Regions from separate parts of the Homo sapiens genome. Here all the other regions are linked to region 6. The links are contacts of gene promoters, found by promoter capture Hi-C in blood cells and fetal thymus (Javierre and others, 2016). All regions are on one chromosome and are shown on one strand. Each heading gives the region's core, a stretch centred on a gene start or on the middle of the fragment in contact. The rest is flanking DNA. Distances are from core to core; before and after follow the strand shown. Region 1 overlaps RTTN (rotatin). Region 2 has its middle 96 kb from the start of DSEL-AS1. Region 3 overlaps RTTN (rotatin). Region 4 has its middle 7.8 kb from the start of CD226. Region 5 overlaps RTTN (rotatin). Region 6 holds the start of TMX3 (thioredoxin related transmembrane protein 3). Region 7 overlaps RTTN (rotatin).

Region 1 (3,778 bases), core at 125-2,624, 1.4 Mb before region 6:
TTGAATTTTTCTGAGTAAACGTACTTATTTATCTCACACAGATTGACATAGAATATTACTGACAGACCGGAAACCCTTTTTGTGCTTTCTCATTACCTTCTACCACCCCAAAATGTAATCCTATTTTAATTTCTATTGCTGTACATTATTTTTGCTAGTTTTTGAACTTTATAAATAGAGTGCATTATTATATTGCTTTTTGCTCAACTTGGAGAGATTTGTCCATGTTGCTGCATGAAGCAATCAATAGTTGGTTCATTTTTATTCTATGTAGTATTCTGTCTAAGAATATACAACACTTTTATTTACCATTCTATTTGTGGATGTTTAATTTGTTTTCTGTTTTGGGCTATTATGAAGAAATGACTGCTAAGAACATTCTTGAACACGTGTCATTGTTGGAATATAGGATATTTATGTTTAGCTTTAGTAGATGTTACCAGACAGTATTACGAAGTTGTTGTGCTGATTTACATTCCTACCATCAGTGGAAAAGTACTAGCTGCCCCACATCCTCACTAGCCTTTGGTATTTGCATTACCAGTCTTAATGGTGTTTAGTTTGGCTAAATAATGAAACTCACACGACTGCAGTAGTCATGCTTAGAATGAGATCACATTTGTGGGTGCTGGGAGCTGTCTTGGCTTGGAAGCCTCATGTCCCAAATAGAAAATATGTTCTCTAGTAAGTGTGCTGTAGGCATAGTTTCCAGGTTGCTTATAAGAGCCACAGCACTCAAGATTGCTCAGAGCTGTGACATCCCATCATGCATTTATAGTTTATTCCTAGATGTCTCAGTCCAGATGTGGGGAGTCATTTTCATCATAAGCAAAGCAGCTTAGTAAATTCTTGACATTCCATATCTATCTGATTTTACTGGGTAAAGGGACAGAGAGTTACCTCAATATCATGTTTGTCCGTAAAGAGGAGAAAGGGTTTTATTACTCTTTTACTCACAGTAATGTTGGCATTTAAAAAATTGTTGCCCATCTGATGGATGTATAGTGTATCTCAAAGTGGTCCTGATGTATTACTCTTTGCTTTTTATTATTTTCTTCCTTCTGTGTTTTTCAAACTTAATTTTCTGTTCATTTTCTAACTTACTGGAGGATTGGCCATTGATTATTAGCCGCCCTTTCATTTAAAGCTATCAATGTTTCTAAGTATGGCTTTTGGTATATTCCACGAATTTGATATGCCATATTTTATTATTTAGTTCAAAATATTTTCTAAGTGTTTTGTGATTTTTTTTTATTGATGCAAGGGTTGTTTAGAGTTATTGGGGGTAACTAGTGAAGATTTAGTTTATTAGGTTTTCTAGTTATTTTATTATTAATATTTAGCTAAATATTGACATTAGAAAATATTTTCTATGATTTTAATTCTTTAGAGTTTGTTGAATTTTACTTTATGGCCCAGCATATGGTCAGCTTTTTAAAATGTTCCATGTGTACTTGAAAATAATAATGTATATGTAGTAGTTGTTGGATATACTGTTCTATAAGTCTCAAAATATATCAGGTTTATTGATAGTGTTCAGATCTTCCCTGTGTCTACTTTATTATATGTGTGTGAAGTTCTTTCAGGTAGCAGAGAGGCATGTTAAAATCTCCACTATGACATTGTCATTCTGGCTGACAATGTATTTTGAGGCCATGTAATTTAGTTTGTAAACATGCTGGTGGGTTGTCTCTATCATTATGAAATTATTTCTTTATCTCTAGCAGTGCTTCATCATATAGAATTCACTCGATCTCTTATGACTGTAGCTTCCCCAGCTTTTATTTGGTTAGTGGTTAGCATGATATGTATTTTTCCATCCTTGTAGTTTTAGCTGTTCTGTGTCCTTAAATGTACTTTTTTTTTTTAAGAAGTATATAGTTGAGTTTTTTTGTCCAATCTGACATTATTTACAGTTTTAATGGAATATTTTAATGCATTTTACATTTACTATAATTACTAATATTTTTGGATACAGATTATTAGCTTGCTATTTTCTATTTGTCCAATGTGGTTTTTTTCTTTCTTTTTCCTCTCTGGCTTTTCTTGATTAATTTTTAAAATTAGTCCATGTTTTCCAGCTGTTAACTTGTAGTTACATATACATTAAGTATTTTATTTATTTATTTATTTGTAGCGATTGGGATCTTGCTTTGTTGCCCAGGCTAGTCTTGAACTCCTGGCTTCAAGCAATTCTCCCACCTCAGCCTCCCAAAAGTGTTGGGATTACAGGCATGAGTCACTGTGCCCAGCTAAGTATTCTTCTATATACATTATTTCTATATATTTTATACAGATGATTATTCTTTTATAATATAGAGATTATAATTTACTTCCTTGACTGTGAACTAGTATTTTTACCACATCCCAGACAATGCAAGGACCTTAGAACACATTAATTCCATTTATTTGCTCTTCTTTTTTTTTTCTTTTATTGTCAGGTATTTAAATTCTATACATATTTTAAATTCTATAAGATGTTATTATAATTATTTTATGCAGTAAATAGTCATTTAGATTTGTATACCGTGGTCGTTTCTGTTACTTTTTATTGCTTTTTTGGTTTTTCTGCCTCCATCTGAGAATTTGTTTTTTTAAGAGTTTTTTATTATTTAATGTAGTGCACTTATATTAGCAATGATTTCTGTCAGGTTTTTTTTTTTTTTAATCTAAAAATTCTTTCTGTTTTAAAAAATGTTATCACTAGGTATAGAATTCTAGGTTGGCAGTTGGAGTCCATTTTTTTGTAGGAACATTGGCTGTCAGTTTTATTGTTGCTTCTTTGAAGGAACTGTGTTCCCCATTCTCTTAGGAGTTCCTTCAGCTATATCCCACAGCACTTTGCTTGCTTGCTTATTTATTTGGGGGAGTTTATTTTATTTTTATGGGTATATAATAGTACATATTTATGGAGTACATGTGATATTTTGATATAAGCATACAATGTATAATGATCAAATCAGAGTAATTAGGATGTCCATTACCTCTAACATTTATTGATTCTCTGTGTTAGGAACATTTCAGATCTGCTCTTCTAGTTATTTTGAAATATACAACAAATTACTGTTAACTATTTTTACCCTATTGTGCTACTGAACACTAGATCTTATTCCTTCTATCTAAATTTTTATGTACCCATTAGCCATCCCTTCTTAATTCCCCCCTTCCCCACCATCCTTTACAGCCTGTGGTAATCATCATTCTACTCTTTATCTCCATGAGATCATTTTTTTTTTTTTTTAGCTCCCACATATAAAGGAGAACATGTGATGTTTGTTTTTCTGTGCCTGGATTATTTCAGTTAACGTAATGACTTCCAGTTCCATCCATGTTGTTTCAAGTGACAGGATTTCATTCTTTTTTACATCTGAATGATACTCCATTGTGTATTTATACCACATTTTAAAAAATCCATTCATCTATTGATGGACACTTAGGTAGATTCCATATCTTGGTTATTGTGAATAGTGCTACAATAAACATGGGAGTGCATATATCTCTTTGACATACCAATTTCCTTTCTTTTGGATATATACCCAGCAGTGGGATTGTTGGATCATATGTAGGTTCTGTTTTTAGTTTTTTGAGGAACTCCATACTGTTTCCAATAATGACTCTACTAATTTACATTCCCACTAACAGTGTGTGAGCATTCTCCTTCCTCCACATCTTTGCCAGCATCTGTTATTTTTTTTTGTCTTGTTGATAAAAGCCTTTTTAACTGGGGTGAGATATCTCATTGTGGTTTTGATTTGCATTTCTCTGATGATTGGTAATG
Region 2 (3,586 bases), core at 985-3,484, 1.3 Mb after region 6:
GGTTTGGGATGTCTACATGCGAGGTTGTGAGTGTGGAGACCGTGGTATATGGGAACTCTTTGTACTTTCTGCTTAATCTTTCTGTACACATAAAGCCACCCTAAACATTATGAATTAAAAATGATTATGTATATACAGGAAAGTAAGCATGTTAGAGTTACTGATGTATACATTATAACAAAATTTATAGAGTTAATAGGAATGATGGTATTATAATACTCACAGATGAATTATAAGACATCCAAACAGGGCTAAACATTTTAGTTGTATTATTTTAACTGATAATTTCAACCTCATAAATAGATATGTAGTTCCTTTGTAGTTTTATCAGTGAGGAAATTGAGACTTAGAAGGTGAAGTATCCAAAGCCACCTAACATGTAAGTAGTACCTCTGGGATTTGAATTTAGTTGCACCCCTGAGTCTAAGCTATTTCCTCTTTGTCTTGTACACCTAAGCAAAATTTTAGGACATGGTGACAAAGTTGAAGTGTTGGAATACATATTTTTGGAATAACTAAGATAAATGTGTGAATTAAAGTCAGCACTTTATCTCAAAATATCAGTGAAATAACAAAGAGATTCAATATAAACTGAGAAACAAATGACACTAATATAGATTTATATACTTATGAAATTTGTAAGGCTTTTTTTTTTCAAGTCTAAGGATGAAAGCAGAAACTAAAGAAAATACCAATAGATATGACTCATGCAAAGGATAAGAAGCTTACATAAAGAACGACACTAAAATTAAAAAGGAAAAAAAAGTCTTGAAAAATTATTGCAACATATACAAAATAATTCATATAGTTAATTCTTTAAGACTTTTAAAACTGATGAGAAAATATCTTCCCAATAGGAAACTGTAAAAGTACCAGAAAAGGCATATTCCAATAAAGTCATGGAAATGGCCGCTGAGTGTACTTAAAAAAAAAAAAAAAGATCAGTTTACTAAGTCATAAAATAAGTGCACATAGCACAGTCACTAAAAATATTTCACCTATCTAGTTGACAAAAATAAAAATAAGTGTTAATTTTTAGTTTTGATTAAGAGTTGAGGAGAATGGCCCTTAGTGTACACTGTGTAAATTGATACAAACTTTAACCCAATAAGAAATTATTGGGTACAATATGAATTATTTGGCTGATGAATATGCTAAAAGCTCTGACTTCACCACTACATGATCTATGCATGTAACAAAATTGCACTTGTACCCCATAAATTTATGTAATGAAAAAAAAAGAAAAACAATTTGAAATCTCTTATCAAAAGCTTTAAAAATGAGGCCAGGCATGATGGCTCACACCTGTAATCCCAGTACTTTGGGAGGCCGGGGCGGGCAGATCACCTGAGATCAGGAGTTCGAGGCCAGCCTGGTCAACATGGTGAAACCCTGTCTCTACTAAAAATACAAAAAATAGCCGGGCGTGATGGTGGTCTTCTGTAATCCCAGCCACTGAGGAGGCTGAGGCAGGAGAATCGCTTGAACCTGGGAGGCAGAGGTTGCAGTGAGCCGAGATCGTGCCACTGTAAGCCAGCCTGGGCGACAAAGTGAGACTCCATCTCAAAAAAAAAAAAAAAACCTTTAAAAATAAGCATATGGTTCTACTCCTAAATTTCTAAAAGCTTATCCTAGGAAATGTATATGAAACAATTTTACAAAGGTTTAGCTCTTGTAGCATTATTGTAAGACTAAAAAAAAATATATAATTGATATGGATAGATTAAATATTCAATAATTAGAGAAATATAATTTATTATAATTTTTATTGTATAAAGTGTTAGGAAAATAATTATGTTACCAGGAATATGTAATTACTATTCCTTTTTTGTAAAACAAAAAATACTAAAATCTAAATACTGTTCTTCTTGGGTTTGAGATTATATATGTGAAGTTTATCTTTTTGTTTCCTGATATGCACATTTTTTTCTCCCTAAGTTAAGCATGTACTACTTTTGTATTAAGTAATTCTGCTATTTATAATTTTAAGTAGTTTTATCTGGCTTAGCTCTTGAGAAGCTACGTGAGATCCCTTGAAAAGTTTTAGGTACTCACAGAGAAACTGATATTAAAGAAAAAAAAAATTCATGACCCAGAGATGCTGCTTCGCATTCCATGTGAGAAAATGGAAAAAAAAATGCTGAATTATGAGAATTTGGTGAGGTCAATAATATCAACAGGAAAAAATCCGTCATGATTTCAATCCTGATACAGTTTGGGTATGTGTCCCCTTTAAATCTCATGTTGCATTTCACTCTCCAGTTTTGGAGTGGAACCTGGTGGGAGGTGACTGGATCATGGGGGTAGATTTCTCACGAATGGTTTAGGGCCATTCTCTTGATGCTGTCCTTGGTGATACTGATGAGTTCTCACGAGGTCTGGGTGTTTAAAAGTGTGTGGCACCTCCCCCACTTCTCTTGCTCCTGCTTTGGCCATGTGACGTGCCTGCTTCCCCTTCACCTTCTGCCATGAGTAAAAGCTCCTTGAGGCCCAGCAGCCCAGAATCCCAGCAGCACCATGCTTGTACAGCCTGCAGAACCATGAGCCAATCGTACCTCTCTTCTTTATAAAGAAATTACCCAGTCTCAGGTATTTATCTTGCAACAACAGCCTAATCTAAATCCTAATGAATATATTTTGTCAATCAAATTTGAGGTATAGAAGCTACAATACCATAATATAATATGCATGGTGAAAATTACTTCACATCAATAGGATAATAGCTGAAGATACCTCAAATTAAATATTTGCATCTAAACAATATCATAGATTTGGGTAAATAGAATACTAGAATATGACAAATAAGCCAATGTATCAATAGAAATTAAGTGTGTCAAGCTTTATTCAAGAGTACTTAGATTAGAAACAAGCAAGCAAACAAACAAACAAACAGCAGCAGAGTTCATAAAAACCCTGGGATTCTACACATTCAAGAATAGTCTTGCTGCTTCATCTTATCACTGATGTTAATTAGGTGCCAATTACTCTGCTCATTCCTATTTAAACCTAGGTTTCATCAAATACTGATTTATGCCACCTGCAGCCTAAATCAAGCAATTCTCTGGCAGCAATCAAGCTTCTGTCTTTTCAAATTCAAAACAATTATTTCTGCACTAGAAATAGCTGTTTAGGACAGGGCTGGCAATAGGGTGAAGCAAATGAGCTGGTCACCTTGACTACCAAATTTTAGGGGCATCAAAAAACTCAGAAATCAAGATAAATGATATATCAATGCAATTTAAAAAATTTAAATTAATGCAAATATCTATACTGAACAAAAAAAATCAAGATTTTCTATAAATTACCTGATTATAATTTATTATAAAGCGGGTAACAAAAATCTGTTACTAAAATTAAGTTGATTGGTGAACAAATGGCAAAATTAGCAATTTGGCTTCAGTGTTTTATACCAATGTCTTCAAAATCTTCTGTAATTTAACTTTTTAAAACTTGACTTTATGAAAGTTTTAAGAATAAAAAGCAAATGCTTGAGAGACATGTCTAAGCCATTAGTTGGTTGATCAGAGTAATAATTCAACAAATTAATTATTTGACAAGGAAGGACAAGTTTCAAAATCTTCCACAA
Region 3 (3,623 bases), core at 311-2,810, 1.4 Mb before region 6:
ACACTGGAAAACTACATTTTGTCTACATTATGGGAAAAATAGCTTCTGTCAAAAAATTGTTATGTTTAACTTTTTAAAGAGAAACAAATTTTTTTGTTTGCCTTTTTTGGCTGAATAATGGATTAAAACCAAGTCTAAAATACATTTTCACGTTGTTTTCATTAAAAATTCTTGTTTTAACCTTCCTGCATTTTATTTTTAGAAACTTACCTCAAATATTTCTGTTTCCCTTTTTTCCCTCTAGGAGTGGATGTCACTTTGGTTCTTGCCTTTGGGTAGTCATAGTGAAGAACATATTCCTACTCAACAAGGATTGGCTTGGTTGATTCCATTATGGGTTGATCGGGACCCAGAGGTGAGTGTGAAGGAGAATCAAGTGTATTGTGTTTAGATTAAAAAACAAATGACACGGGGCCAGGTGCGGTGGCTCATGCCTGTAATCCCAGCTTGTTGGGAGGCTGAGGTGGGCAGATCACGAGGTCAGGAGATTGAGACCATCCTGGCTAACACAGTGAAACCCCATCTCTACTAAAAATATAAAAAAATTAGCTGGGTGTGGTGGCAGGCACCTGTAGTCCCAGCTACTTGGGAGGCTGCAGCAGGAGAATGCTGTGAACTTGGGAGGTGAAGCTTGCAGTGAGCTGAGATTGTGCCACTGCACTCCAGCCTGGGCAACAGAGCAAGACTCCATCTCAAAAAAAAAAAAAAGACACAAAACATATATACATATACATAGTTATATTATGGGATTATTGTAGTGACTCTACCTTATGTTTTATTTAAGCCCTGTTTTAGCTTAGGCTGCCATAACAAAATACCACAGACTGGGTGGCTTAGACAACAGACACTTCTTTTCTCATAGAAGTTTTGGAAGCTGAAAGTCCAAGATCAGAGTGCCGGCATAGTCAAGTTCTGGTGAGGGCTCTTCTTCTGGCTTGTAGACGGCTGCCTTCTTGCTGTGTATTCACGTGGCCTTTCCTTGGTCCATGCATGTGGGGCAGGGGAGGGAGGGGTGGTATAGAGACAGATTTGTCTTTTTTTTTTTATTATAATGTTACCAGTCTTATTGAGATAGGACCACTCCCTTATGATCTCTTTAAACCTTAATTATCTCCTAGAAACCCTGTCTTCAAATGTAGTCACTTGAGCATAAAGACTTCAACATATGAGTTTTGGAGGGACGCAATTCAGTTCATAGTTTTCCATCCCTGAGCCCCTGAACTTCATGTTCTTCTTCCATGCAAAATGCTTTTATTCTCCCTCAACAACCTCAAAAGTCTTAACTTATTCCCAAATCAACTGTAAAGTCTAAAGTCCAAAATCTCATCTAAATGTCATTTAAACCACATCTGGGTAAGTCTCCAGATATAAACCCTCCTGAAACAGAATTCTTCTGCAGGTGTGAACCTGTGAACCCATACAAGTTATATGCTTCCAAAAGATGATGGTAGAATAGACATTCCCATTCCAAAAGAGAGAAATAGGAAAAAAAGGAAGAAGTGATGGGTCCCAAGCAAGTCCAAAGCCTAGCAAAGCAAATTTCATTAGATGTTAATGCTCAAGGATAATGTTCTTTGGCTTGATGGTGTGCCTTACAGGCCCACCAGAGTGACAGCATCTGTCTAGATGGCTCTGTGGGATGACCCCACCCCTTTGGCTGTCTTCAAGAGCCCCGCCCATAAAGCTGTCTTCAAGGGCAGCCATGTTCCTGAAGCACTGGGCAGGGTCATCATTCTGGCCCACAGAAATCAGAGGTCTTTGAAACCAAGGAGGAAAAGCCACCCTTGAGTCCTGTGGTGGGATTAGCAGCCTGGGGATCTCTGAATCATTTTTTGGGTCATTCTTTTCATTGAAGAATACAGTAGTCCTCCCTTATCAGAGGTTTCATTTTCCAAAAGCACCCTGAAGATCAGTAGTAGCCAAACCCTCCCTCACAATGCCTACATCATTCACCTCACCTCATCTCTTTATGTAATCATTGTATCATCTCACATCAATACAAGAAGGCTGAGTGCAATACAATAAGATATTTTGAGAGAGAGACCACATTTATGTATTTTGTATTATAACATATTGTTGTAATTGTTCTAGTTTATTTTTAGTTATTGTTAATCTCTTACTGTGCCTAATTTGTAAACTTTACCATAGATATGTATGTGTAGGAGAAAACATAGTAGTTATAGGGCTCAGCACTATCTGTGGTTTCAGGCATCTACTGGGGGTCTTGGAATGTATTCCCCATGGATAAGGGAGGGACCACTGTAGCACATATTTGCTTACAGAATCCAGGAAGTCCAACAGCTTTCCTTCATTCTCTGCATCTTTCTCTGTCCTCTTTAGTTCAAACTGGCAATGTCTTTGCTGATATAATCCCATCTCTATTCCTGGCTTCTGCTGAGATGTCTGATTAAGTCCATGAATTGCACCCGTGATCTTTTTCTTAAATGGGTATTCAGCCACACCCTCCATGTTCTCTTTAGAACAAGCTTTCTCATTTTTTTTGCACAGATAGGCTGAGAATTTTTCAAATCTTGTTCTTGTTTCTTTTTGCTTACCCATTCTTAATTCCTTCTTTAATTCATCTCTCTCCCTTTGCATTTTGCTATAAGCAATCAGGAGGAACCAAGCCAATTTTTCAACACTTTGCTTAGAAATCTTCTCAGCTAAATATCCAATTTCATTGCTCACAAGTTCTGCCTTTCACAAAACACTAGAACATGACCACAGCTTAACCAGTTTTCTTGCTACTTTATAACAAGGATTGCCTTTCCTCAAATAACCTTTTTTAAATAACACTTTCCTCATTTTTGTCTGAGATCTCATGAGAATTACCCATGTCTACGTTTCTGGCATCCACCTCAAAACTCTTCTAGCCTGTAACCCATTACCCAGTGCCAAAGTCACTTTCATGTGTTTAGGCATTTGTTTCAGCAGCATCCCCACTCCTTGGTACAAAAATCTGTATTAGTGTGCTCAGGCTTCCATAACAAAATACCATTGTCTGGGTGGCTTAAAAACAGAAATTTATTTCTTACAGTTATAGAGGCTGCAAGTCCAAGATCAGAGTGTCAACATGGTTGGTTTCTGGTAGGGCACTCTTCCTGATTTACAGAGGGCCACCTTCTCACTGTGTGCTCATATGACCTCTCCTTGGAGCACGCACATGGAGAAAGATTTCTCTCCTTCCTGAGGCCACCATTCCTAGTGCAGTAGGGTCCCACCCTTATAACCTCATTTAACTGTAATCACCTAATAGCTCTGTCTCCAAATACAGGTTGGGGATTAGGGCTTCAACATACGAGTCTTGAGGAGACACAGTTCAGTACACAGCACCCTCATTTTCAATCAAATTTGTTCGAGTATAGATTGAAAATATAAAAGAGAAAAGGTTATAGTATCTATTACCTTCAGAAGAGTGGAAAATTATTGGAGAAGCTTAGCAATTTTGAAAAAAATAAAAAGGATCTGGAAATTATAGACATGCAACACTTAAGTGTCATATAATGAAATTAAATTAAATGCAAAAAATTGCATTTGCATTACAATACAAAATTTTGTATTATTTCTTTCCAGTTTTAGCCAGTTTACTTTTTTCAAGTAAAATATGCTATTACAATAAAATC
Region 4 (3,350 bases), core at 384-2,883, 1.2 Mb before region 6:
TTTCTGTCGGAGAATGGGAGACAAAGAAAAAAAAAAGAGTATCTAGAAAGTAAGACCGAAACATACTTAGATATGGGCAGAGATAAGGAAGCCTCTTGACTTAAAAAGAGGGCTGAATCTAATGTGCTTTGATTGGCAGGAAAAAACACGAGGAAGAAAAGGCAAAGAAACAAACTGATTTCGGCGGGGAGTGTAGTTTCTATTTAGAGCTAGAACAAAGGAGAAGTGCGTCCTTTCAAATTATAGATTCTTTGGGGGAAAAGAGGGACAGAACTTTATCTGAGTTTGGAATGAGTCTGAGTAGCTGCAATAGTAAAGTTGCTTCCAGAAGCAGGTAAACTTGACTTCAAAAAACCCCGCTTCATGAAATATTAGTGATTCACTTCAGTTGCTATCTGAGGAAGTTCTGGTAGAGAGAAGAGCTCAAGAGCATGGGCAGAGTCAGCTCCTGAGTGGGCTGAACGCTCCCCTCAGCTCCTGCAGTGCTAATTAAGGGAGGGAGCAGCGGGGAGCTTGCAGTGACCAAGAGGGTGTTGAGGCTAGGAGGCCACGATAAACAGGATACGATAAAAGTCCTTAACCAAGACGCAGATGGGAAGAAGCGTTAGAGCGAGCAGCACTCACATCTCAAGGTTAGTAACCTTCTCAGAAAAAAGACTGGATGTGTCTGAGCTCAACTTTTTAAATGAATCGTGTGCGAAAGGGTGGGGGCTGCCAGTGAAACCATGGCAAGTTGATGCAGCAGGACAAGAGAGTTGCCGGAAAAAGCTGGAGTAAGTTAAGTGCTCGGTGTTCTGTGAACTGTTAGTTTAATGAGGGGTGCAGTTTGTAGTAAAAGGGTGCCAGTTAAGTACTTTTTCTCAGTCTGTCTCTAGAATTGTATTTATAATAGATCTGATCGTAAAGTTCTTGAGAATAAGAAAACTGAGCTAATTTTACCGGCATCTGGTCTGTCAAGCTTAAATCTTCCTTCTCTCCAGCAAGACTGAACAAGGATGAACTTAAATAATAAATGTCCATGATCCAAAGATTTATTATCCTACTCAAGGGTTGGGAAACTTTTTCTGTAAAGGGCCAGATAGTTAATATTTACAGCTTTGTGGGCCGTGTGGTGTCTGTCAGTTGTGACCTAACACCTCTTGGTTCCAGCATTGCAGCACAAAAACAGCGGTGGATGGTATGTAACCAAGTGAGCATGGCTGTCTCCAACCAAACTGTTTATGGAAATCAGTGGGCTGCGCCCAGCCCTCAGGCCATAGTTTCAGAACCCTGTCTTAGAGGATCCCTGCTGAACCCCAACTGGAGTCTTTGCGTTGACTGGAAGTGGGGTTCTACTGGTCACTCAGCAGTAGCCTCACTCCTGGGGACATGTGTATGACTTGCCAAGGTTCTAAGGGTATCGTGGTCTAGAGGAGACCATGTGGCCCACATTGGAAAGGTTCTCTTAATGAGATTATTTGAGGAAGGGAGCAGAAACCCAGACTATTGTGTTCCTGAGGAAATTTTTTTTTTTTTTTTTTTTTTGAGATGGAGTCTCGCTCCTTTGCCCAGGCTGGAGTGCAGTGGTGCGATGTCGGCTCACTGCAAGCTCTGCCTCCTGGGTTCACGCCATTCTCCTGCCTCAGCCTCCTGAGTAGCTGGGACTACAGGTGCCCGCTACCACACCCGGCTAATTTTTTGTATTTTTAGCAGAGACGTGGTTTCACCGTGTTAGCCACGATGGTCTCGATCTCCTGACCTCATGATCCGCCCGCCTCGGCCTTCACTTTGGGATTACAGGCGTGAGCCACCGCACCCGGCCTCCTGTGGAAATCTTACTGGAAGTATGAGCCTCTTAACAGCTGGGGCATCCCAGCAGAAGGCAGGCAAACCCTCGCATCTGAGAAGGAGTGGAGGGAGCAAACGACCTCTCACACTATAATCTTCCCAGCCCCAGTCACTTGTTCTGAGTTTAGCTAGATTTTCTGTTCACAGTCCTCTGCTTTCCAGCATGTGAATAGTTTTCCAAGCAAGTGTCGAAAGGTATCAGAGCAGATTCTCCATCACACACATCAGGTGTTTTTGCATAAACTGGGGAAGGTGGGGTCATTGAGTAGACACTAGGAGACTCCTCCCAATGCTCAGAAACCATAGAGACATCTGGGGAAGCAGGACATATTGTAGGTAGCAGAAACAATGAAACTGAGGTGACAGGGAAGGTTCTACCTGGGTGGACAGCCTACAGGAAGAAGAACAGTGTGGCTGAAGAGTGTTCCCCGTCCCCACCCACCCAGGCCACCTAGGAGTCTGCATTCAGAGGCAAGCTTGTGAGATGAATTCATGCTCATGTGGTTAGCTGAGACATTTTTAATAGTAGAGAAATCCAGTAATATTTTGATTAATGACTTCCTTGAGGACAAAGCTCTTTTATACAGACAGCTCTATTAGAAAAAAAACCTCAAGCCAAAATCCCTTCATAAATCATGCAAAAAATGGCTGCTGACACAACAAAAATAGCTCAAGCGCTGTCTCTATTTGTCTTTGGTTAGATGTTGATAAATAGGGCTCATCTCTAGCAAAGTCGTAACAGCTGGACTTTGTCTTCAGCTGCAAGTCTTTCTGCCCCTTTCATTCGAATCTGTGACCTCTAGGACCCTCAATTCCAGGGTGCAAATACACAAGTTCTCTTCATCTCTTGACTAGTTGGCTCTGGATGCCTTGGGAATAAGGAGTTCCTACAAGTTATTACCAGTTAGTACCCCTTTTCCAGTCCTCCTCCCATGAACCTCATTTCTTTATCCTGGGTGAGGAAGTTCACTTTGGGCCTGATCATAGAAACCACCGAGAGTGGATGATGCTAGGTTTCATCTCATTTCCTTTAGGATTTGAGGCAGCACGGTGTTGCAGATGCCTGCTTGGCCCTCAGCCCTTCTACCTCTCTACCTGCACCTCTACCCCACTTTACCCAACCCTGACCCCTCCCTCAGAAAATAGATATGTTTTGGCATTTGTTTAATAAGCACATAATGATTTTTAAAAATATCTTAAATCATTTATCTGACAACCTCGACTATCATGATCTTTTGCATTATTGATTTCCAGCTGTTATCACAAAGTTGTGACAGAGTGTGTCTGTGGACTCTATGCTTAGACTGTACTATGCTAATGTACTGTATTCTTAGAATGTACTTGGCATCTTTGGACCGGGGTGGTTGGGGGATCAAATGAAATCAATTAATACGTGGCCAACAGCAAGATGGGGTGGCCTCATTCATTGGTAAGACCTGGGGTGAATGTGGACTCATACTATTCACTAGTAACAATTTTTAAAAATTGAGGTGAAATTCACATAACATTGTTCACCTAAGATT
Region 5 (3,551 bases), core at 982-3,481, 1.3 Mb before region 6:
CATTCTGTACTCTTAGGTATTTTAAATGTTTTACATATGGAATGAATGGCTGGATGTGTTTTATAAGGTAGATTCTTTCAAAACGGGTTGTCAAAACAACTCTTCAAGGAAATAAGTGAAGCTATCTGTATCTATAAGGAAAGAAAATGAAGAGTTTCCTGCTTCAAAGGAGAAGATAGTTAGAGCTGCTACCTAGTGTGGCCACATCCACCGAGAGGAAGTTTCTTCTAGCTCTGCTGACTCCCTGTGACCATTTACATGGCCCTTCTGTCTAAAAATCACTGAGATGTTTTGCTTCGTCTGTAAGCACTGATGATGTTTTAAACCATTGTATCAGTACTACTATAGAGGATATAATCTTGTGAACACTCTGATTTGCTTTGTCTATAGTTTTACAACACTTTTGAAATACTAGATTGATGCTTTAATGCAGAAATACTAGATTATTCTTTATAAAAGCTGGCCACGAAAATAAAAATTTTAAAAAATACTAAATTAAAGCTTTAATATAGAAAGCAAAGATAAATTATGGAAGCTTTTATTGCCTTATAAATTTTTACCTGTTTTGCTCTTACTTGTGGTAAGAGCACAACTGGAAAAACCATACCACATCTGGAAAATGGACATGTTGAACACACTTACTCCTTAAGCGATGTTAAAAAGCCAGATACATGACTCACAATTTATATTTCAAAGTAGTTTGATGGAAATTAAGTATTTATTTATACAATTTATTAAAATTCCCTATATATGAATTTATATGAACTTTTTCTCAAGACAAAAGTGCCATTAATAAACTTAATGATTCCTTCATGCTTATGATATTATGCTTGTGACTGGATGTACAGTCAGTATTTGTGTGTAAATTTAAATATATAAATTTCATGTGTATGTGCAGTTAATATTCATTCATGACACCTTATTCAGGGAAATACTCTGGAATACTTTACATGTGGGATCTACCTATAAAGATTTATGAAGTGCTAACCTGGCTACTAGTTATAAATATTGTGCTCAATTTGTATCACATTAGCCATTTACAAAAGTGTGATATCTCAATAAGTCAAAGCATTTCTGTATTTCTAAGTTGTTTAATAAGAAGTAAATCCAAAGAATATTAAGATTATCCTTGAGTATAAATATAATATTATGGAGGTAGGGATTGTTAATTTCAATTTCAGCTTTTATCAGGTGTATGGCATGTTCTCATTATTAATAGTTGGCCACTATTGGGTAATTCACCAGGTCACCCACTGCCACCCCACCCTGCTGTTTGCATATGCATAACATTAGGGGTTTTCATACTGGAAGGAGCATGGTGGCTGTGAGGTAAATGAATTAAACAGTGGACAAGGTTAGACGGAGGGGACTGTCATAGTCCAGACAAGAGATGATGACACCTTAACTTGAGCAGGTAGAAAGGAGAAGGAGGGTAGGGAGTAAATTTGAGGCATTGAGAAGAGGAGGAATGTAGAATGACTTCCAAACTCCAGTTTAAGCCACTGCATTATCATGCATTAAGAGTGCATGATAGAGCAGAGCACAGGTGTGAGAGACCCGATATTCATGCTTGCACGTGCTAGCCTCAAGAGTCTTTGGGGCATCCAGGTGAAAAATGGCTTGTGGCCTGTAGATTTTATGGGTCTGGGACTCTAAGGAGTGATACAAGCTGGGGATATTAGGAGTTATCAATGTGTAGATGGTGTTTGTGGTCCTCACTATTGTTGAAATTTCCCAAGAAAGTATGTAATGAAAACCAAGGTCATATCTTTGGAAAACAGGAACATTTAAGAGGGGGCAGAAAACAACTGAGAAGGGAATACTGGAGAAGGAATTTGGAGATTGCATTAGGCCGTTCTTGCCTTGCTATGAAGAAATATCTGAGACTAGGTAATTTATTAAAGAAAAGAGGTTTAATTGGCTCACAGTTCTGCAGGGTATAGAGGAAGCACAGTGGCGTCTGCTTCTGGGGAGGCCTCAGGAAACTTCCAATCATGACAAGAAGGCAAAAGGGGAACAGGCACATCACATTACTAGAACTGGAGCAAGAGTGAGAGAGCTGGCGAGGAGGTACCACACACTTTTAAATGACCAGATCTCATGAGATCACTCACTGTCTTGAGGAAAGCACCAAGCCATGAGGAATCCGCCCCCAAGATATAAACACCTCCCACCAGGCCTCACCTCTAGCACTGGGGATTACAATTCAACATGAGATTTGGGCAGGGACAAATATCCAGACTCTTATCAGAAATGATCCAGGATAGAGCAGCAGCGGGGAAATTAAGAGACATATAGCAAATGCCACCGTGCTTAAGCGTTGTTGGCAACCACAAAAGTAGAAGCGGCCTCAATAGAATCATCAGGGCAGAAAATAAACGGTAATGAGCTAAAGATTAAATGTGAGGCAGGGAAATTACAGCAATAATAATGTAGAAGTTTGGTCATGAATAGTGGCATTAATAATTTAGGACATATAAGATGAAAGGAAATGAGTATGTTTGTTTCTCTTAACACGTAAACTACTTGAATACAGGCACAGAAATGAGCAAATTGGGGACGAGTTGTTTAAGAGATAGCAAGAGGAGAACTAACTGGTGGATTAAGATCCCTGAGGAGGCAGGAAGAGCTGTGTTTCAGAACACAGATGGATGTATCAATCTCTGGCAGGCAAGAAGTGGAACACCTCTTTGTCACTACCGGGCAGACAGGAAGGATGAATGGATGAAAATACAGATAAACTATGTGGACAGAATGGCAGAGTAGATAAAGGAGTTTGTACTTAATCGTTTCTGTCTTCTCTGTGAAATAGTAAACAAGGTCATCTGCTGCAGATGGAGGGCCGTGTGCCACAGAGAGTGGTGAACAAGGGAAGAACTTTAGGGAGAGCACTGGGAATGACTTCAGTGCTTACGGAGAGTGTTGAACATTGGGAATCACTTCTCTTCTGCCACTTGATGCTATGTGAAATCGTATAGGGTGTGTGTATTTATGTGCATGCTCACGTGCATAATCATGGGTCTACAAATTACCTCGGAATTCTTGTTCATTTAAAATAGATATTGCTGCACTTAAACAGCTATATTTTATCTGCAATATTGTCCCAGGGTAACTGATCTTTGTAATAAAGACTCTGAGTTACTTCAGAATTTTTCAATTTATCATAATATTTAGACTGAATTTTATATATTCAAATTACTCAAAAACTGTAATTTACTTTGAGTATATACACACATACACAGAGAGAGAGAAGGAGAGGGAGAGAGGGTGGGCAAAGAGGACTCAGAGTTGATCAGAATGTTTACTTAACCAGAAATTCTCACTTCTTGGCCAGTTCATAGCATTTACAGGAATTTATTCAGTGTTGTGAGATATCACTTTGCTGTTTAATTTACATGTTACACAGGCTATTTTCTATGCTTCCTAACTTAGTGGTACATCTTAACCACCCTGGTGTTGAAGCGACGTCCTGAGATTGGTCAGGCTCGTGGTCAGGGCAGCCATGTGTGGAGCCCAATGGGGCTGGGGCAGGATGCTGAAGCCATCCACAG
Region 6 (3,565 bases), core at 468-2,967:
TTACAGGTGTAAGCCACCGCGCCAGGCCACATCTGGCTAATTTTTTAATTTTTTGTACAGATGGGGTCTCACTGTGTTGACCAGGCTGGTCTCAGACGCCTCACCTCAAGCAATCCTCCTGCCTCAGCCTCCCAAAGTGCTGGGATAATAGGCATGAGCCACCCATGCCTGGGACTTGATCAGTATTTAGATTTCATAAAATTTACAGTTGAAAAAGTAGATTCACATACCTCAGTTGTTCCAACCACATTAAAAAAACTTTCCAATAGCTGAATCGAGTGTCAGTTTTTGAGTTTACTGAAATTAAAAAAAATAAATATTCAGTTATTTCATCACACTAGGCACATTTCAAAAGCTCAATAGCCACATGTGGTTAGTGGCTACACTACTGAAAAGCACAGATCTAGGTCAACTGGCTTTTGTTGTTGTCCACATGTGAACTTAAACTGTAACGCAAATATAAGAGGAAATTATTTCACTTTGCATGCTGTGGAAGACAGAAAACTTTGAAATACATGAGAATGAAAAAAAAAAATTGAATATGGGTCATTCAGAGACCTTGCCAAGAAAGTAGAAAAGCTTCTGTATAAGAGTATCGAGGCGATGGTACTATTATAAAGCTGTTCCACCACCACCGGGAGAACATTCCCATCATTTCAACAGTCCCCTTACGTTTTAGTCTACTTTTTTCTTAAAAAAAAAAGAAAAAAAGGAAAAGAGAAAGAAAAAGAAAAATTGAATCTGTAGAGGGCTTGCGCTGGATACCATGCTGCATGCACAAAGGGGGTGACATTTAGGGCTTGCTCTCAATTAGAGTGCAATTTAATCTTCTAGTCACTAGGAATAACGACGTTTTATGACATTTTTGCCTGTTGGAATTTTGAACCTAAGGTGAACCGGCTGACATCATATCCCCCTTCTGTTGTTGTCACAGGTTTTCAAAATTTGGTTTGATCTAAATTCTCTGGTACCTTATGTCCCATAAAAATTTCATCTAGTTCGTAAGTAGTGATTGCTGCAGTAACCGTCTTATAAAAGTATATGGTTTTTACAAATCATTGTCGTATAGAAGAAAAAACAGGTAGCAATATAAATATTTCATACTACTTTATCTAGTTCCAAAATAATCAGAAAAGAGCCATCAAAAAATATCCTACGCTTAACTTCATGTTCTCAAGTTTCAAGAGAAAGTTTTTAAAGAGGCAATCCTTACTTTGGCAAAAATGCATTAAAGCTTGCTGCATTTAAGAGATGTCCCATTATGCAAACAGGTTGAAAGAATATTACAAATACGTTTTGGAAAAATACGGAGTGTCGCGCAGCTCAGCAATCCGCAGTCTTAATGCGCGCCTCTTTCCAGGAATTTGATCCAGCATCAAAACCCACAGGTGCACTCACCACACGGGAGTAACAAGTAAATGATGTGCCAGTATTCAACCTGCAAGTGCGTCGTCAGAGCCTACCTCACCCTCAGCATAACTTTCACCGGTATTCACCTTCCCGGAAACGCGCCCCAGTGAACCAGCACCGTTTTCCCTAGTAAAGCCCTTAAGCAGGGTTCCCACGCTCCTGGGCGTGGAGGGGGGCACCGAGAGCGCAAAGGATTCTTAAGACATGACTGCGCAGGCGCTGTCGCATGCGCCGCACTCCCCTCGCATGCGCCGCACTCCCGCGCATAGCCGGAGACGGAGACTGGCCGGGTAGCCCCGCCCCCGTAGTTAGCGCGGTGCTTCTCTTCCGCTCCGGGTCGGCTCCGTTTCCCTTTCCGGGCGGGCAGGCGGCGGACCCCAGTGTCTTTATCCCTCTTTTGCACAGTCAGCTTCTGCAGCTCTCCCGGGCTAGCATGGCAGCGTGGAAGAGTTGGACGGCCCTGCGGCTCTGCGCCACAGGTAATGGGGGCTCAGCGGTCGGGACGCTGGCGGGCGCGTGGGACCTGGCCCCGCCGTGGGGCCGGGATTGGACCCGGGTCTGGGGCGAGGCCTGCGGGGTTCGTGGAGATGCCCACCCATTCCCGGCAGCGTCCTGCCGCCCCCGCCGCGCCACCCTGCCTGGCCCTGACGGAGCGGACACCTTGGGGTCCTTCCGCCGCCGCTGTGCCGGACCAATGCTGGACGTGGGAAGGGCGCGCTGCCTTGTGTTTGTGTTTTTCTCATTGTGGCAGAAGTTTCAATAAAGCTTACTCCTTTGATGGGCAAGAAGGATGCCGCCGTCCCAGCTTAACGACCAAATCTTGCCTTGGCTTTAGGTTCCGAGTCTTGTCACGTTTAAGGATTTTTACCACCAGTACTCAAGAGAGGGTGGTCGAGGACAGATCAGGGTCAGGCCGCCGGGATTGTGCGGTGTGAAAAGGACCTGAGTGTGTGTCAGCGGTTCTCAGCTGCCTCCCGTCAGCATGGAGTGCCCTCATTCTCACTGGGGTCCGCTCACTTAACAACCTTTTAGAGCCCACTCTGTGTCAGGCACTGCCGTGTAATAAGTATTAGAGTTGCAGCTCGACTTTCTTCCTACGTATCTATTTGAGGGGAAATATTTTGAATGGCATTTGGAGTTTTTACGGAAGAGGTAATTGCTACTAAAGCAAAAGAAATAAAGAAGAATGCTGTCTATTTGTATTCCAAAAAGATAGGATGGTTAAAAAGAGACGTAAGATGAGAGTGAAAATATGGAGGAAAAAGGAACTGTGTGTATTAGATTTATTGGCTTACCTAGAACTTGGCCGGTCACGATATGGTTGCATACAGACTAAATATTTATTAAATGGATGAACTACCTTTGCTTTTGCATCATTTGCACCCTGGGATGCATCAGTGATGAATTTTTTGGTAGGTTGTGAAAGGTCAAAAACACTTCAGAGATGACTAAGCTTATACGGTATGAGCCAAATAATCAGCATTTATTGTGTACATTTTGTCTTTTTTTTTCAGTTGTTGTACTTGATATGGTCGTCTGTAAAGGATTTGTAGAAGATTTAGATGAATCGTGAGTATACATATATATATTTAAAATATTATTTTAACTGTCCAACTCAGATATCTGAATATTTGCATGTGATTCTAATATTTTAGATTGGAACCAATTTTTATATATCACTCATTTTTTTCACTTGTTGTAAGTGAAGGTGAGGGTGTGCCCAGAAGAGTTTTATTAATAGTTATGAGATCAAAAAACTGTGGCAAACTTTTACATATTCTTTTTTTCCTCATTATCTTACCTTGTATTTATGTCTTTTTCCTTTAATTATATTGAATGGGTGTTAGAATTTGGTAACTGTACTGTATTTATCTTCATAGTATGACAGCATTAATCAGCCTTGCTTATAGTAAGTGAGGAGGTTCACTTCAGACCCAAATTCCTGTGTGTGATCTTTCAGGCTTGACCATAGACAATTGCAAGGCTTTTTCTGGCATAGGGGAAGGTGCCCTCCCTACACCAAACTTGGTGTATAACCGGTGCATTACAGTCCCTGGAGGGAGTGGTAGTCAAGGATTCGGCCTCCCAGGCCAGCCACGCTCATTTGCATGTCTACACTCCCAACCCAGTGGTCTCTGTTTAGCAGCCTCCTTAT
Region 7 (3,418 bases), core at 136-2,635, 1.4 Mb before region 6:
TCCTATCCCCTAGCAACATCCATTACACTAATCTGAGTCTGTTTTAGGACAGTACCTTTAAGTAGCATCAGCCTGCTCTAAAAAGCTTGTATTGTCTTTTGTAATATCTGTAAAGTAATAAGGCTAGAAATATATTCAAATTCAGATTTTTTTGTCTTACCGAGGGATTATAAATTGAAGATCTCAGGATATGTCATGTGGCAGATGTGAAAGCGAGGGAAAAGTCTAGATTGTGATTTTGCACTTAGACCATTCTAATGAATTGAGCAAGTGATAGATACAAGAATTAGACTCTCGCTGTTGTAAGAGGACAACCCTAGTTATCCTACTTACTGTGAGGTACAGAGCAGAGCAGCGAGAAGCTTGACAGGAACGGATGACTTCAGCAGACTAAGTTTGCTCTTAAACTAAGCCAATTCCTCCTCCTTCACCTGGGATGGGGCAGCTGAAGTTAGTCTAGCTGAAGTTCCGCGGGGACACAGGGGGATCAGGGAGAAAGAAGCAAGCCTCTCCTCGCAAACAAGGCCAGCCAGCTTTCTCAAGAGGTACGTCTGAGGACTTCCTCTGATTCTAACGAATTTATGCTGTCATGAATGCAGTTCTGGACTGAGAATCCTAGTCTCAACTCAGACAAATCCCTTAACTTGTGGTCCTTTTCTCTAAATGAGGACGTGGACTAGGTCAGGCTTTTTGTACCTATAGCTTCGTAGGCTCATACTGCACCTTCCAGTAGCTAATACTTAATGCCAAAATTGTCTAGTTATTACTTGGATTTTAAGGTGAAAAGTAACATGTTTACATATCGATGTACTTTATCAAATGTAACCAAATACTATCGATTGGAGATTATATCTAAACAAGCAAAGATTTGAGCATAGAACTGGGACAATTTGCTTTAATACTTTTTTGCTTTTAGTTATTAAAATAGCAATATATTAGTTTAGCACACTTAAAAAATAGAGGCTAGTAGAAATATAAATCATCCATAATCAATTTTAAAGCACCATATAAAGCAATCATTGTGTTTCCCCAACCACATGGGGTAAGTTATAATACAATAAGGTACTTTCTAAAAGCATCTTTTCTAAACTTGTGTATCCCTTCTGTGGACTATACTAAGGAAAATCACATCTTTATTAATGCCTGACCTTTGTCATGAATCACAACTTTGCTTTCTTCTAATGAGCCAGGTATTTAGTGGGCCCTTATAAGCTTTCTTTTCCCACACCGATCGTTGAAACCGCAAACCAGGTACCTATTCTATTTATATCAGTAATAAGGCCTTCTTGAGTCTTTATCAGTTGAAAGAATGTTCAGTGAAATGATAAAGGATTTCAGCATCATTATCCCCTTAACTTTTCTTATACAACCAAAAGAGTTGTGGCAGGAGCCAGATATATTAGCTTGTGCATAGTTTGTGATATCAGTCTTGGCATAGGATTATTTTCTTCACAGAACTATAAATGTTGTCTTGATATCTGTTGACAGGAACATTTTTTCACATATCTCTCATTGCCAAATTGTAGGCAAATATATTTTTAAAAATAAACAAGCTTGCTGGGCGCGGTGGCTCACGCCTGTAATCCCAGCACTTTGGGAGGCAGAGGCGGGCGGATCACGAGGTCAGGAGATCGAGACCATCCTGGCTAACACAGTGAAACCCTGCCTCTACTAAAAATACAAAAAATTAGCCGGGCGTGGTGGCGGGCGCCTGTAGTCCCAGCTACTCGGGAGGCTGAGGCAGGAGAATGGCGTGAACCCGGGAGGCGGAGCTTGCAGTGAGCCGAGATCGTGCCACTGCACTCCAGCCTGGGCAACAGAGTGAGACTCCGTCTCAAAAAAAAAAAAAATAAACAAGCTTTAGGTTATTTTTACTTAGTATCTGGATCTAATACTATATAAAATAAGGCATTTGATGTTTGTTTATGATTGACTTATTTAGACTGAACTTTTTTCCAGATTTACTTTTTAGATTATGTGCTTAGCCTACATTTTTTAGCTGCAGCTTTCTCACTTATTTCTTGGCATCATGACTGTTATACTTACTTAATGTGGTGAAAGATGGTTAAGGGCTCAAGTTAAAAGGGGGATTTAAAAAACTGTATATTCCATTTTTAGTAATTTCTTCAAATTTATATTCTCTTTACTATTAGAAACTGCAAATGAAAATAACCTTAGTTTTTGCTTTCATTTCATCATGGTAATTCTAAGGTACTCTAAGTGTTAAGATATATACACAATCAATGTACAAATACTGTGAGCTATATAGGATCTGAGTCTGGAATGATGGTTTATAACTTCTATGGATAGCTAATGTTGTGTTGCATGTACTGATATGGAGGCTACCCAGGTATGGGCACTTCATGTTACTTCACAGAAGAGAAATTGATGGTAAGGAAAAGAGTTATCTGACCTCACCACATAAGTGTTTTTCAACTAAGAGGTGCTTAGTTGAACACCTCTTAGCGCAAACACATCACTTTGCGCTTTTTCAGTCTTAGAAGGTCGGTCTGCTCATTATAAACCTGTAGGTGAAATTGTACTTGCTTTCCACGGATTTTGTTATATTTAATGTTGTATTCTGAAGCAATCTCAGCAAACTGGCACAATTTTTTAGTGTTCTTCCTTGATAGGAGGTGAGGTAGAGAAAAATCTTTTAATACTTCTAATTTTTTAGGCACTATTAAAATTTATATGTGCCATTTGGAACATTAAAAATATCTTTATTGTCAATCAAGAAATGCAAAATATCACAATAAATTATAGTTAAGGTGGTATATTTTAGCCTTTCTAACATTTGGGCAATGAGGGAATTGGCCTTATGGGAACCTTAAACTCCTAAATGGGCCTGAAGTCAATACTGCTCCTTTGAGTTACTGATTTATGTAAATGATAACAATTCCTTTAAGAAGTGGAAATGCCATTTAAAAAAACTGCTGTAACTCCCAAGATATGGAATCTTTTCTAGTTATCCTAACTAGTATAATTTTGTCTTAAACCTCCTTGTTTAAGGATATCTTGTGTGTATGTTGCCTGTGTTTCATTTTCCGTACTGTAACATTAATAAGTAAAATAATTTACTGATTCATAGGTGGCACCTTCATTGGGGAGTACTGAATTTCAGCCACTTGTGCAGTCAACAACACTTCTACCTGAAGCCTCCCATGACCAGTTTGTGGCTCAAGGTATCCTTTTAGTGAAGACATTCTACCTTCAAAAAGAAAAATGACAAGTTGGTCCAGACAGATATTTTGAAAGTAAATGTCTAAAGAACAAAATTTTAATGAAATAAGTTGTAGACCATTATGAAATACATTTAGAACCAATATATCAGAAATTAATAAAATAAATGCTCTTAACTAATAAATGGAATTTGGCTCTTAAATAAATAGTCCAATTCCTGTGTGGCTCCTTATTA

Evidence for each region. The method cuts DNA at HindIII sites, captures the fragments that hold promoters and counts their contacts. A CHiCAGO score of 5 or more calls a contact.
Region 1: a contact is called between a fragment that was not itself captured here and the fragment with the promoter of TMX3 in region 6, in 1 of 17 cell types (M2 macrophages). The highest score is 6.3, in M2 macrophages.
Region 2: a fragment that was not itself captured here is called in contact with the fragment with the promoter of TMX3 in region 6 in 1 of 17 cell types (naive CD8 T cells); the score reaches 8.4 in naive CD8 T cells.
Region 3: a contact is called between a fragment that was not itself captured here and the fragment with the promoter of TMX3 in region 6, in 4 of 17 cell types (total CD4 T cells, naive CD8 T cells, M2 macrophages and 1 more). The highest score is 7.1, in total CD4 T cells.
Region 4: a fragment that was not itself captured here is called in contact with the fragment with the promoter of TMX3 in region 6 in 5 of 17 cell types (activated CD4 T cells, non-activated CD4 T cells, M0 macrophages and 2 more); the score reaches 10.3 in activated CD4 T cells.
Region 5: a contact is called between a fragment that was not itself captured here and the fragment with the promoter of TMX3 in region 6, in 2 of 17 cell types (M0 macrophages and total CD8 T cells). The highest score is 8.3, in M0 macrophages.
Region 7: a contact is called between a fragment that was not itself captured here and the fragment with the promoter of TMX3 in region 6, in 6 of 17 cell types (total CD4 T cells, M2 macrophages, naive CD4 T cells and 3 more). The highest score is 6.3, in total CD4 T cells.

Annotation. Positions count from the first base shown.
Region 1 is chr18:70,130,035-70,133,812 of GRCh38, reverse strand. All of the region lies in intron 23 of RTTN (rotatin), which reads left to right. Among named protein-coding and RNA genes, the nearest start is that of RTTN, 74 kb to the left of the region's middle. The HindIII fragment of the contact is 5,288 bases long and covers 1-3,778 here.
Region 2 is chr18:67,418,971-67,422,556 of GRCh38, reverse strand. No RefSeq gene overlaps it. Among named protein-coding and RNA genes, the nearest start is that of DSEL-AS1, 96 kb to the left of the region's middle. The HindIII fragment of the contact is 1,213 bases long and covers 1,628-2,840 here.
Region 3 is chr18:70,088,842-70,092,464 of GRCh38, reverse strand. RTTN (rotatin) reads left to right here. Exons shown (of 49, transcript NM_173630.4): 30 at 245-355. Among named protein-coding and RNA genes, the nearest start is that of RTTN, 120 kb to the left of the region's middle. The HindIII fragment of the contact is 1,856 bases long and covers 633-2,488 here.
Region 4 is chr18:69,954,037-69,957,386 of GRCh38, reverse strand. It overlaps a transcript of CD226 not described here. Among named protein-coding and RNA genes, the nearest start is that of CD226, 7.8 kb to the right of the region's middle. The HindIII fragment of the contact is 1,345 bases long and covers 961-2,305 here.
Region 5 is chr18:70,024,955-70,028,505 of GRCh38, reverse strand. All of the region lies in intron 43 of RTTN (rotatin), which reads left to right. Among named protein-coding and RNA genes, the nearest start is that of CD226, 79 kb to the right of the region's middle. RefSeq lists silencers at 3,390-3,449, 3,460-3,509. The HindIII fragment of the contact is 3,387 bases long and covers 538-3,551 here.
Region 6 is chr18:68,713,260-68,716,824 of GRCh38, reverse strand. TMX3 (thioredoxin related transmembrane protein 3) reads left to right here and starts at 1,717. Exons shown (of 16, transcript NM_019022.5): 1 at 1,717-1,889; 2 at 2,925-2,979. The coding sequence starts at 1,844. It also overlaps a transcript of CCDC102B not described here. RefSeq lists an enhancer at 1,390-1,459 and silencers at 1,660-1,789, 1,970-2,069. The HindIII fragment of the contact is 941 bases long and covers 1,237-2,177 here.
Region 7 is chr18:70,065,596-70,069,013 of GRCh38, reverse strand. It overlaps RTTN (rotatin), which reads left to right. Exons shown (of 49, transcript NM_173630.4): 35 at 3,092-3,185. Among named protein-coding and RNA genes, the nearest start is that of CD226, 120 kb to the right of the region's middle. The HindIII fragment of the contact is 341 bases long and covers 1,215-1,555 here.